Linked DNA regions of Homo sapiens: regions 1 and 2 are each linked to region 3. Evidence: promoter capture Hi-C in human tissues and cell types (Jung and others, 2019). All regions are on one chromosome and are shown on one strand. Each heading gives the region's core, a stretch centred on a gene start or on the middle of the fragment in contact. The rest is flanking DNA. Distances are from core to core; before and after follow the strand shown.

The links. Contacts are between HindIII fragments. The study calls those that stand out against the background at their distance.
Region 1: the fragment with the promoter of CALM3 here is called in contact with a fragment that was not itself captured in region 3 in 1 of the 25 tissues and cell types used here (bladder).
Region 2: a contact is called between the fragment with the promoter of PTGIR here and a fragment that was not itself captured in region 3, in 3 of the 25 tissues and cell types used here (dorsolateral prefrontal cortex, spleen and stomach).

The regions. Positions count from the first base shown.
Region 1 is chr19:46,599,057-46,602,861 of GRCh38, forward strand. It overlaps CALM3 (calmodulin 3), which reads left to right and starts at 2,274. Exons shown (of 6, transcript NM_005184.4): 1 at 2,274-2,381. The coding sequence starts at 2,379. It also overlaps the pseudogene PPP5D1P. RefSeq lists enhancers at 1,539-2,038, 3,767-3,805 and a silencer at 2,169-2,308. The HindIII fragment of the contact is 7,591 bases long and covers 1-3,280 here.
Region 2 is chr19:46,623,325-46,626,664 of GRCh38, forward strand. It overlaps PTGIR (prostaglandin I2 receptor), which reads right to left and starts at 1,765. Exons shown (of 3, transcript NM_000960.4): 1 at 1,673-1,765; 2 at 134-913. The coding sequence starts at 901. RefSeq lists an enhancer at 1,980-2,480. The HindIII fragment of the contact is 28,599 bases long and covers 1-3,340 here.
Region 3 is chr19:47,101,598-47,105,080 of GRCh38, forward strand. The region is part of intron 2 of ZC3H4 (zinc finger CCCH-type containing 4); the gene reads right to left. Among named protein-coding and RNA genes, the nearest start is that of ZC3H4, 10 kb to the right of the region's middle. The HindIII fragment of the contact is 3,344 bases long and covers 1-3,086 here.

The sequences.
Region 1 (3,805 bases), core at 1,024-3,523, 500 kb before region 3:
CGTCTGGCTTGTTTTGGCTTTTACTGGCTCCATTTGCTTACAGATTCTTCGTAATTGACCTGTTGGTTTCTTTTTTTCTGCTAGGTTGCTGCCTCCTTTTTAGCACTCAGTGGCACCTTAAAACCAGGTTTGCCTTGGCTCTATTAAAGATCAGAGCGTCTCCCATCCCGAATGGGGGAGGTCCCAAAGGGGATATCCCAGTAGCATAGGAAAGCTGGCTAGGGGTTCATTCCCAGGGGAGCTATGGAAGAAACCTCCCACAGCATGGTGCTAACGAACAGCCACTCTGATTTGGCATCTCCTTTGGCCAAGTTATAGAGTAGAGAGAGTTTCCAGGGCTGGGGATGGTAGTCCCACCTCCCCACTTTGTCTGTGGCTATTCTCAGAGGATATTTCTCCCTTGAGGCACTCCTGATGGTTGTATTCTTGTGATTACAGCACTTTGGGAGGCCAAGGCAGGCGGATCACTTGAGCTCAAGAGTTTGAGACCAGCCTGGCCAACATGGTGAAACCCTGTCTTTACTAAAAATACAAAAATTAGCCAAGTGTAGTGGTGGGTGCCTGTAGTCCCAACTACTTGGGAGGCTGAGGCAGGAGAATCGCTTAAACCTGGGAGGCGGAGGTTGTAGTGAGCCAAGATCATGCCACTGCACTCTAGCCTATGTGACAGAGCAAGACTCCGTCTCAAAAAAAATACAGATCTTGTGTGAACTAACAGAATAAGAACTCACTTGTTACCGTGAGGACAGCACCAAGTCATTCATGAGGGATCCACCCCTATGACCCAAACACCTCCCACCAGGCCCCACCTCCAACATTGGTGATCACATTTTAACATGAGATTTGAGACTGAGTAACAAGTGTTAGGATTAAAGGCATGAGCCACCGCGCCCGGCCATCTTCTTTACCTCTCCACTGTGTCAGTTTTATTTTTCTCTTCTTCTCTAGACACTTTGTTCCTCAAGATAGGGGGCAGAGTGGGAAAATGACCATAGTCAGAATCTATGGGAAGGACCCACCCAAAAGGAAAAGGCTTCTTGTGCCCAGGCTGCAGATCCAAACCCCAGGGAAGGACTCTCATTGGTTCAGTCTCCATTCTGTTCCAGGTGGAGCATAATGATTGGTCCAGCCTGACTCGTTTGCCCATCTCTTAACCATCAACATGGTGGGGAGGGGACACGCAGGAGACTGTCAGCTCCTATCCTAAACGGGGGAGGGGGCAGGGGTGATCATTTTCTGAGCTCCTATAAACAAAGTTTCAGTTCTTTTTCCTCCTATGGCTGGAACACTGGAATAAGGAAAGAGGTCGTCTGTCTGGAGAGGCTGGTTGGGGAGTATGGTCTCCCCAGCCCAGCCAAGCTCAGGTCCCTGCATACAGCAGGCGCCTAATTGATGCTTATAGCACGAATGACTGAATGAATACCCCGTTCCCACAGGCTGTCCTGGGATGGTCCTAATTTCACAGACCCTGAGCGGATCAAGAATGAAGCGGGCCCAGGGGTCCCGCCCACCGGCTGAGTGCGTCTTAGGACGCAGAGACAAGACCACGGAGGGCGGAACCTCTGAGCGTTAGGTGGCACCTTGGAGACCCCGCCACCTCCAAAGGCCCAGTTAGGGGCGGAGCTTCTAAACCCTAGCATTTTGGATTGAACCATCGTCCGTCGGTTAAAGGGGAGAGCCGAGAAAGCCCTTCTGCATTTGTCGCCAGCCTTTTTACCACCTCCTGGCCACAGAAACGACGTATTTGCTTCTCTAACGGCGACGCCGTTTCCCCCTTCGCCTCGTTACTCCTCAAAGCCCCACGCGGCCACAGAGTTCAGACTTACCCACCACCACCTTGCAGTGGCTCGCCCCAGTTTGACGCATTGCAGGGAAGGTCGGACCAATGGGCGCCAAGCTCTCATTTCCGCCATGGGCCAGGCCCAATAGTGACGCGGCTCACAGAGGGACGCGTCACGCACCGCCGAGCTGTGCCCCTCCGCCGAAGAAAGTGAAGTGGGCCCGGGAGGCGGGGCGCGCGGCGAGGGAAAGTAGTCCGGCGACGGGAGCGAGCGCGCGCGCGCCCGGCGGCAAACCCAATTCCTGTGCAGGGTGGGGACGAGAGATTCGCGGGCCCGTAGGTGTGGAGCGGGGCGCGGAGGGATCCGTGGGAGCCGCAGTGCGGCGGCGCGCGGGCCGGGTGGGGCGGGGCCGAGCGAGGCGGGGCGCGCGCGGCGGCCGTTGAGGGACCGTTGGGGCGGGAGGCGGCGGCGGCGGCGGCGCGCGCTGCGGGCAGTGAGTGTGGAGGCGCGGACGCGCGGCGGAGCTGGAACTGCTGCAGCTGCTGCCGCCGCCGGAGGAACCTTGATCCCCGTGCTCCGGACACCCCGGGCCTCGCCATGGTGAGTGAGGCTGGGGGGTCGCCGAGGCTGCGGGCTCTGAGGCGGGCTTAACGGGGCAGGACCCCTGAGGGGGCGACAGAGCCCAGAGTGGGGGGCGTCCGGGCCCGGCGAGAGCCTCGGGACCCTTTTCTACCCGCGTTGTCGGGGGCTGTTGAACCCAGAGCGGGACGTCTGGATCACCAGAGGTTTCCAGAAGCGACTTTAGCACCAAATGGGATGTTTAAGTCCACAAATGGGTATCTGAGCCCCTAAAGGGGACATTTGAACCCCGGATGGAGGATCGGGACCCTCAGTGGGACCCCTCAAAAGGATTTTGGACCCAGGATGGGGCGTTGGGTTTCAGGATGGAGGTGTTTGGACCCCAGGGGACGAAATAAGAAAGATGGGCTGGGGAGGGGAGCTATTCGGGCCCTGATGAAGGCGTTTGGTCCTGAGAGGATGCGGGGAACGGGGGACGAAGGGAGGCTGGGCTGCTCCTGGATGGGGTGGTGGAGGGTAGCTGGGCCCGGGCGGGGAGGGGCGACCCCTGGGCTCCTGTGGAGCAGAGGAGAGGGTCAAGGATGGGCGGTCACTTCTACAGATGAGACTCCCGAGGGTGGGGGAGGGTGGGGGAGGGTGGTCTCCAGAGCCCAGCACTGCAGAGGAGGAGGAGGGTGAGGTGCAAGCTTATGGGAGGAAGAGCCTGGGGTGGGTGGCAGCGGAGATTAGAAGATACTCTTGAAGGCTTCCGGGACGGAGAAGGATCAGGGTCGTGGAGGTGGTGAAAAGGGATGGTGAGAGTGGGGCTCGCCAGTAGTCGGGGGACAGGGACCCTTGGGGTTAATTTGGAAGTAGCTAGAAAAGGTTCCGAGGTTACTAGTGGGTTAAGACTGTTGCTCTAGAAAGACAGAATTTTTTTAACGGGGTGGGAGTGTTGTGTTTGGGTCCAAGAGAAGATGGATTTCCAAGGTGAGGGGTGGGGGAGGACTTGGGCTTGGGTGGTTGGGAGGTGAGGTGGAAGGAGAAAATGAATGGCAGTCAGGGGGGCCTAGGTTTGGGGGTGGATGTGGGTAGCACCCTGCCAGTCTCCAGGGACAGGCCAGGACAAAGACGGCTCAGTGTGGATGGGGAGTGGGCTGCAGGGCCCGGAGGAAGCTTTTCTACCGTCCTCCTTCCTCAGGAAGAACGCGGCTGGGTGGAAGACACCGGGGCAGTGGGAGCAGGTGGGCGGAGCTGTTCGGGCCCCTATTGCGCACTGAAGCCTCATGAAATGGGGATGGGAGATCAAAGTTTGGGGTGCCTCGAATGAGCCAGCTTTTTCAAGCCTAGAAGCCTCACTCTGTCGCTGCCCTTTTCAGGCCAAGAGCACTGCCTTTTCCCAGCAGGAGCGCCGGTTTTCTCATGATCCCCAGCCCCACGCACCATGCTGCACCTCGTCACTTGTG
Region 2 (3,340 bases), core at 515-3,014, 480 kb before region 3:
TACAGGCGTGAGCCACCATGCCCACGATGTCTCACCTCTTTTGAGCCTCAGTCTCCCCATCTGTGACATGGGCACAACCCACAGAGCTGCCCTCCTCCTCTCCCCACTCCTCCCAGCTCCGGAGGGGACTCACCGTGAGAGGCAGGGAGCACACGGCCATGACCACTGTCATGAGGGCCAGCAGGATCAGGTGGTCCACCTCGTCCTCTCCGGTGCGCGGCCGTGGACCCAGAGAGCCCTGGTGGCGCTTCTGCTGGCGGTACATGCGGCAGAGGCTGAGGGTGACCGAGCCGTTGCAGAGGAAGATGGCAGCCACCAGCAGGGCCACCAGGCCGGCGTAGGCCAGCGAGAAGGCGGCGCCGCCCGGCTGGGCCCAGCGCATGCGGAGGAAGCACCAGCTGCCGGGGCAGTACTGCTGGTGTTGGCCCAGGCCCAGCAGGGGCAGCGCGCAGAAGAGGACGCAGAAGGCGTAGATGGCTGGCAGCGCCAGGCGGGCGCAGCGGGGCCCGTCCAGCTGCGCGTAGAGGTAGGGGTGGCTCAGCGCCAGGCAGCGCTCCACGGCCATGGCAAAGAGGATGAGCATGGACGCCAGGCCGAAGAAGGTCATGGCGAAGGCGAAGGCATCGCACAGGGCGGGGCCGCCTCGGGCCAGGCCCAGCAGGGAGCTGTTGCGCGCATAGGCCACGAACACGGCCGGGCTCAGGAAGCTGGTGCCCAGCAGGTCGGTGGCCGCCAGTCCGGTCACCAGCACCGCGAAGGCCGAGGGGCGCGCCGGTCGCCGTGCGCTCAGGATGCCCAGGGCCAGCCCGTTGCCCACCACACCGGCCACGAACATCAGGGTGCTGGTGGCCGGCCCCACCGAGCCCCGCACGTAGGTGAGGTTCCTGCACGAATCCGCCATCCCAGGTCTGGGCTGGAGGGTTCCCAAGGTGGGGGGTCAGAGGGAGCCAGGGCTACCCCCACCACCCAGCCCACTCAGATGTCCCTGCTGGCCAGTCCTTTTGGCAGCTGGGGCCTCCCAGCCAACCCCCAGTTCTCCTGTGTGTGCGGGTATGCAGTCCTCTCCCCTCTGGCTTCTCCAGTATCTCTCTCTGTCTCTCCCCACCTTCCTGTTTCTCTTTCTCTCTTTCTTTTCTTTCGTTTCTTTTGAGACAGAGTCTCACTCTGTTGTCCAGGATGGAGAGCAATGGCATGATCTCGGCTCACTGCAACCTCCACCTCCTGGGTTCAAGCGATTCTCCTGCCCCAGCCTCTGGAGTAGATGAGATTACAGGCGTCCACTACCACGCCCAGCTAATTTTTGTATTTTCAGTAGAGACGGGGTTCCACCATGTTGGTCAGGCTGGTCTCGAACTCCTGACCTCAGGTGATCCATCCACCTTGGCTTCCCAAAGTGCTGAGATTACAGGTGTGAGCCACCATGCCTGACACCCACCACCCCCCCACCACCTCCTGTTTCTTTCCTTCTCTAGCTCTGTTTCTGCCATTAAAGAGACAGAGAACATCCGGGCATTGCCAGTTCTTTCCCTCCCTGTCTCTCGGTCTCTTGCTGATATCTCCCTGTCTCTGTCCCCTCCCTTGTCCTTGTCCTCCCCGTACCTTTCTCCCTCTAACCCCACACCCTCTACCTGCTCCTGCTCTGTGTTGCTGCATCCCCAGCCCCTCACCGCACCTCTCCAGTCTTGCCCAGGCTCTCCTGTCCCGTGCGTCTGTGCCTTCACTTGCTTTGCTCCTCGTGTCTCTCGCTGCCTGTGTCGGTCTGTGTGTCAGCTTCTCCTTCCCTCCTCCCTCCGTCCCTCCCTCCTTCCCACCCTCCTCAGCTTGCCTGCTCACCCCAGCTTTTTCATTTCCTCTCTCTGCCCCGCCCTCCCTCACTGTTCTCCAGAGGGCCCCCTGGCACACTCCCCACTCCCCGTCCACCCGCCCAATCCAGGACATCCATCTCCCATCGCTGCCTCCACTCTCCTCCCCACATCCTCTCTTGGTTCCCATCACTGAGCCACCTGCCACCTCCCCACACACAGGTCTCCTCCCTCCCCCAGTGTCTCCCTCTCTGGCCTGGGTGGGGAATTCCTGAGTCACCATCACTTAGGCTTGGAGCCTCCCGGGGTAGTAGGGGGCCTCTAGGAGGGACCTGAAGAGCACAGTTGACCAGGCTTCAGTGGGGTGGTCTTGGCCTGGGCTGTCTCAGGGTGGCCTCTGGGATCTATTCTGGGCTCCAGGCCCCGGGGCTGAGGACATTGCCCAGGGATTGAGAAATGACCAGGAAATTCCTCTCTGATGTAGTGTTTTCCAGACACCACTGAGAGTTCTGGTCCCTGGACACAATTCACTCCTTCCAGAAAGCTGAGGAAGGAGGCTTGGCCAGAGAGAGACATGCCAGTCCCTCGAGCCTGTCCCTGGGCACCCAGCTCACCCTGCAGAGACCCGAGAAGAAAGCATGAAGGGGTGTATTTGGTGTCCAGTTGTCAGGGACAGGCTTGGGAGACTTCCATGGCCCATGATGGAAAGGTAGCACTGGGCCACCGTCCGACTTCTCGCACAGCACCCCTAGGCCCCAGGCCAAGCTCTGGTGACCTTGACCTTCAGGAATCATATTTTGATCACAGGAAGCTGTCCACAGCTCCAACATTGCTGCCATGTGTCCCCCACCCTCCCCAAACACAGCCAAGCCACCACCGCTGCAGCCTCGGGCCAGTGTGACAGACCCACATGTTCCCGCTACCCGCACAGCGTTCACGGGTCTCCCTTCCCACGGAGTCGGTGGCTTCCCAGGCAGCCTCCCAGCCCAAAAGGGCCAGATAAAACCTCAGAGACCCTCTCTGAGCCCCGCTGTTTCTCAGGGGGACGGTCTCAGATCCATTCGACTTGGCTTCCTGTTTCCATCTGACCACCTTTTTTCTTGCTGCGAGATGGTCCCAGGTGAGGAGAGGGAGCTGGTAGACTTCAGCCTCCTTCTCTGTGCGTGGGGTAACACGGGCCTCAGGGACCTGGTGGCCAGCCTCGGCCTGCAGCACATCCCAGATTGGTCTTTGTAACAAGGAGAGAGGCTGTGCGGGTGTCTCTTGTCCAAGGCCAGGAGGGATGTGTCCAACCCAAGGACTGGACTGTGGGCAGCTGCCGTCTTGCCCTCTGTACCCCGGTGTGTGACCACAACCCCTTTGCCCCTCCCCCCCATCTCCCTATCACCCTTGCCCAGCTGGCACCCGCAGCTTCCAGCAGGATGGACGCCCAAGTTCCAGCCCCACCGTGGCTCCCTAAGGGACCCCCCAGCCCTGCTCTGGGGGTGCCTGTACATGTGGGCTCCAGGTCCTGCCACGTTGTCCCGCCTCATGCCGTG
Region 3 (3,483 bases), core at 165-2,664:
TACGGTGGCTCATGCCAGTAATCCCAGCACTTTGGGAGGCTGAGGCGGGCGGATCACTAGATCAGGAGTTCGAGACCAGCCTGACCAACGTGGAGAAACCCCATCTCTACTAAAAATACAAAAATTAGCTGGGCGTGGTGGCGCACGACTGTAATCCCAGCTACTCAGGAGGCTGAGGCAGGAGAATCACTTGAACCTGGGAGGCAGAGGTTGCAATGAGCGATCGCACCACTGCACTCCAGCCTGGGCAACAGAGCAAGACTCTGTCTCGAAAAAAAAAAAAAAAATTAGCCGGGCATGGTGGCACACGCCTGTAGTCCCAGCTACTTGGGAGACTGAGGCAGGAGAATTGCTTGAACCCATGAGGTGGAGGTTGCAGTAAGCTGAGACCATGCCATTGCACTCCAGCCTGGGTGACAGATTGAGACTTCGTCTCAAAAAAAAAGAAAAAGAAAACAAGAACTTCCAAGTGGGACAACTCAGCAATGTGAGGAGAGGCTGCAAGGTCCCCAAGCAGTTATTTAATAATTTCCCAGCAGAGAGCTGGAATCTGGGCTTGCAGGCCTCCACACTCCTCACCAAGGCCTAAACAGGCTCAGAGACAAGAAGGAATTTGCCCATGGGGTCACAGCAGGAAGAAGCAGAACTAGAAACTAAGTCCAGTACTTTTGGATGCAAAGACCAGCTCTTAACCTCTACAAATTATTTGACAACTACAAATTATGTCAAAAAGAGTAATTTGCTAAACAGGTCAACTGACAAAACAACGCCCACCCTGAAATGTATAATCGAGTAGGGAAAAATAAGATATACATACATAAAACAGACTTCATGAATCAGTATTCCAAGAAATGCCAGAATGAGGTACCAAGACTTTGGGCAAATTCCTTAAACACTCTGCACCCCAGTCTCCATAACTGTGCAGCACAGGCAACCATGGAGTCCCCAGGATGGTGTCATGGGAGAATCCCATGAGGCCATGTAACACAAGCACTTAGCAGGAACCTTGCCCAGAATAAATGCTTAGGAGTAAAACCTACCCAAACACAAAGACACAAGGCCGATACGGTCCTTCCAATATCAAGTGAAGGAAATGGTAGCATTTCAAAAACCTAACCAAAGACATCTGGATAGAGAATAAGGGCTCATGGAAAGACCGAAGGAATTCTGGCAAAAAAAAAAAAAAAATAGGACTCATCCCAACACAAAGAGAAAGCAATACAAAAATCCCAGGGAGTGAAATTCCAAAGTCCCCTAATATGAAACGAATGCCTTCGCCCCCAAGTGTGCAGTGTCCACTCTGGGGTTTGTCCAAGCATGCAAACCACTTAGGCAGAACATTTCTGTAAAGCTTCAAACAGGCTGACCGTGAAAAAACCCAGCCTGCTAAAAGGAAGCTTGTGGAGACAAAGATGCCATTTTTTTTGCCTGAGTATCTATTCTTCCACTCCCACGAGCTCTGAAAATTTGCATTCTTGAGCAAAGGTATCTATCCCTCAGATCCAAGTTACTCCTGGCAGATGAACCTCTGGAATTTGCTTCTCAGCAATGAAGAGTTTTCTAACCACCTTCTCATGCCAACTAAGCTTCAGATGGTTTAAAGCTGCAAAGATCATGGTTTTCATCAGAGGACCGATTTCTATCACTCCAGAGGAGAAAGTCTAATAATTTAACTTATGAACTAAGACTTCTCTTTGTTTATAATTATTTATTTATTTATTTCTACACAGGGTCTTGCTCTGTCACCCAGGCTGGAGTGCAGTGGTGTGATCATTGGTTCAATGCAGCCTTGATCTCCTGGGCTCAAGCAATCTTCCCACGTCAGCCTCCCAAGTAGATGGGACTACAAGCATGCACCACCATGCCCAGCTAATTTTTGTATTTTTTGTAGAGACAGGGTTTCAGGCCGGGCGCAGTGGCTCATACCTGTAATCTCATTACTTTGGGAGGACAAGGCAGGCAGATCACTTGAGATCAGGAGTTCGAGACCAGCCTGGCCAACATGGTAAAACCCTGTCTCCACTAAAAATATAAAAATCAGCCCGTTGGCCGGGCACAGTGGCTCATGCCTGTAATCCCAGCACTTTGGGAGGACGAGGCGGGCGGATCACGAGGTCAGGAGATTTAGACCATCTGGGCTAACATGGTGAAACCCCGTCTCTACTAAAAAAAAAAAAAAAAAAAAACTACAAAAAAATAAGCCAGGCGTGGTGGCAGGCGCCTGTAGTCCCAGCTACTCAGGAGGCTGAGGCAGGAGAATGGCATGAACCCGGGAGGCAGAGCTTGCAGTGAGCTGAAATCGTGCCACTGCACTCCGGCCTGGGTGAAAGAGCGAGACTCCGTCTTAAAAAATATGTAAAAATAAAAATAAACAAATAAATAAGAGATCTGGGCCTAAGATTCTTGAGATTTGTTCATATACCACCTAAAGAATTTCTTAGCCAGGCGCAGTGGCTCACGCCTGTAATCCCAGCACTTTGGGAGGCCAAGACAGGTGGATCACCTGAGGTCAGTAGTTCAAGACCAGCCTGGCCAACATGGTAAAACCCCATCTCTACTAAAAACACAAAAATTAGCTGGGTGTGGTGGCGCACACCTGTAATCCCAACTACTCAGGAGGCTGAGGCAGGAGAATCGCTTGAACCCAGGAGGCAGAGGTTGCAGTGAGCTGAGATCATGCCATTGCACTCCAGCCTACGTGACAGAGTAAGACTCTGTCTAAAATAATAATAATAATAATTTCTTAAAAAGAACTGATACAACCTATTCGTTAATTTCTAGTCACCTGTGGGTTCCTTAAGGGCAGACAAGAATGAGGTTCACAGTAACCCCACATTTCCAAGGGCCCAGCACAGGGCCAGGTACAGATTGGGTACATGCTCAGTGCATATTCTATATGAAGTATCAATCTCAGCTCTCATACCCTTTTGGTCAATTTCATCAATAGAAACAGTAACTAATTTCCAAGAAAACTTTTTCAGCAACCTGTATCACTTAAAACTTTGACACAAACTCATTCAAGTGTTTATCAAGGGTTTCCAAATAAGCTTGAAAGTGATGGATGCACAGACTGAACAGAGGAGACAGGCCCTGCCTCGGATGCAGCCCACCCGTGTGGCCCACAAGCTTCAGTTACTGTGACTGCTCTCGTTCCCCGTGGAGTGGCAGGGCCTGCCTGGAATCCCAAGGAAACCTAAGCCCTGGTGTCTGTTAGGAAAATGAGGAGGGCAATAATCCAAGCCACCTGCAACAGACTTTTGGCCAAGCGACACTAGCGTCTGGGCCCAGCTCCCTCGGTTAGGCCATAGCAGGGATGTAATGGCCATGATCCACTTCCACACGGGACCTCAAGAAGTCTCCAGTTACTTCTAATGAATGAAAATCCCTTCCATTTAAGAGGGTTTAAAAGCCTAGGCTTGGGCCTCTACATTCACTGAAAGGAGTGGAACGCAGGGAGAATGGAGCCACAGTGGACTGAGGAAA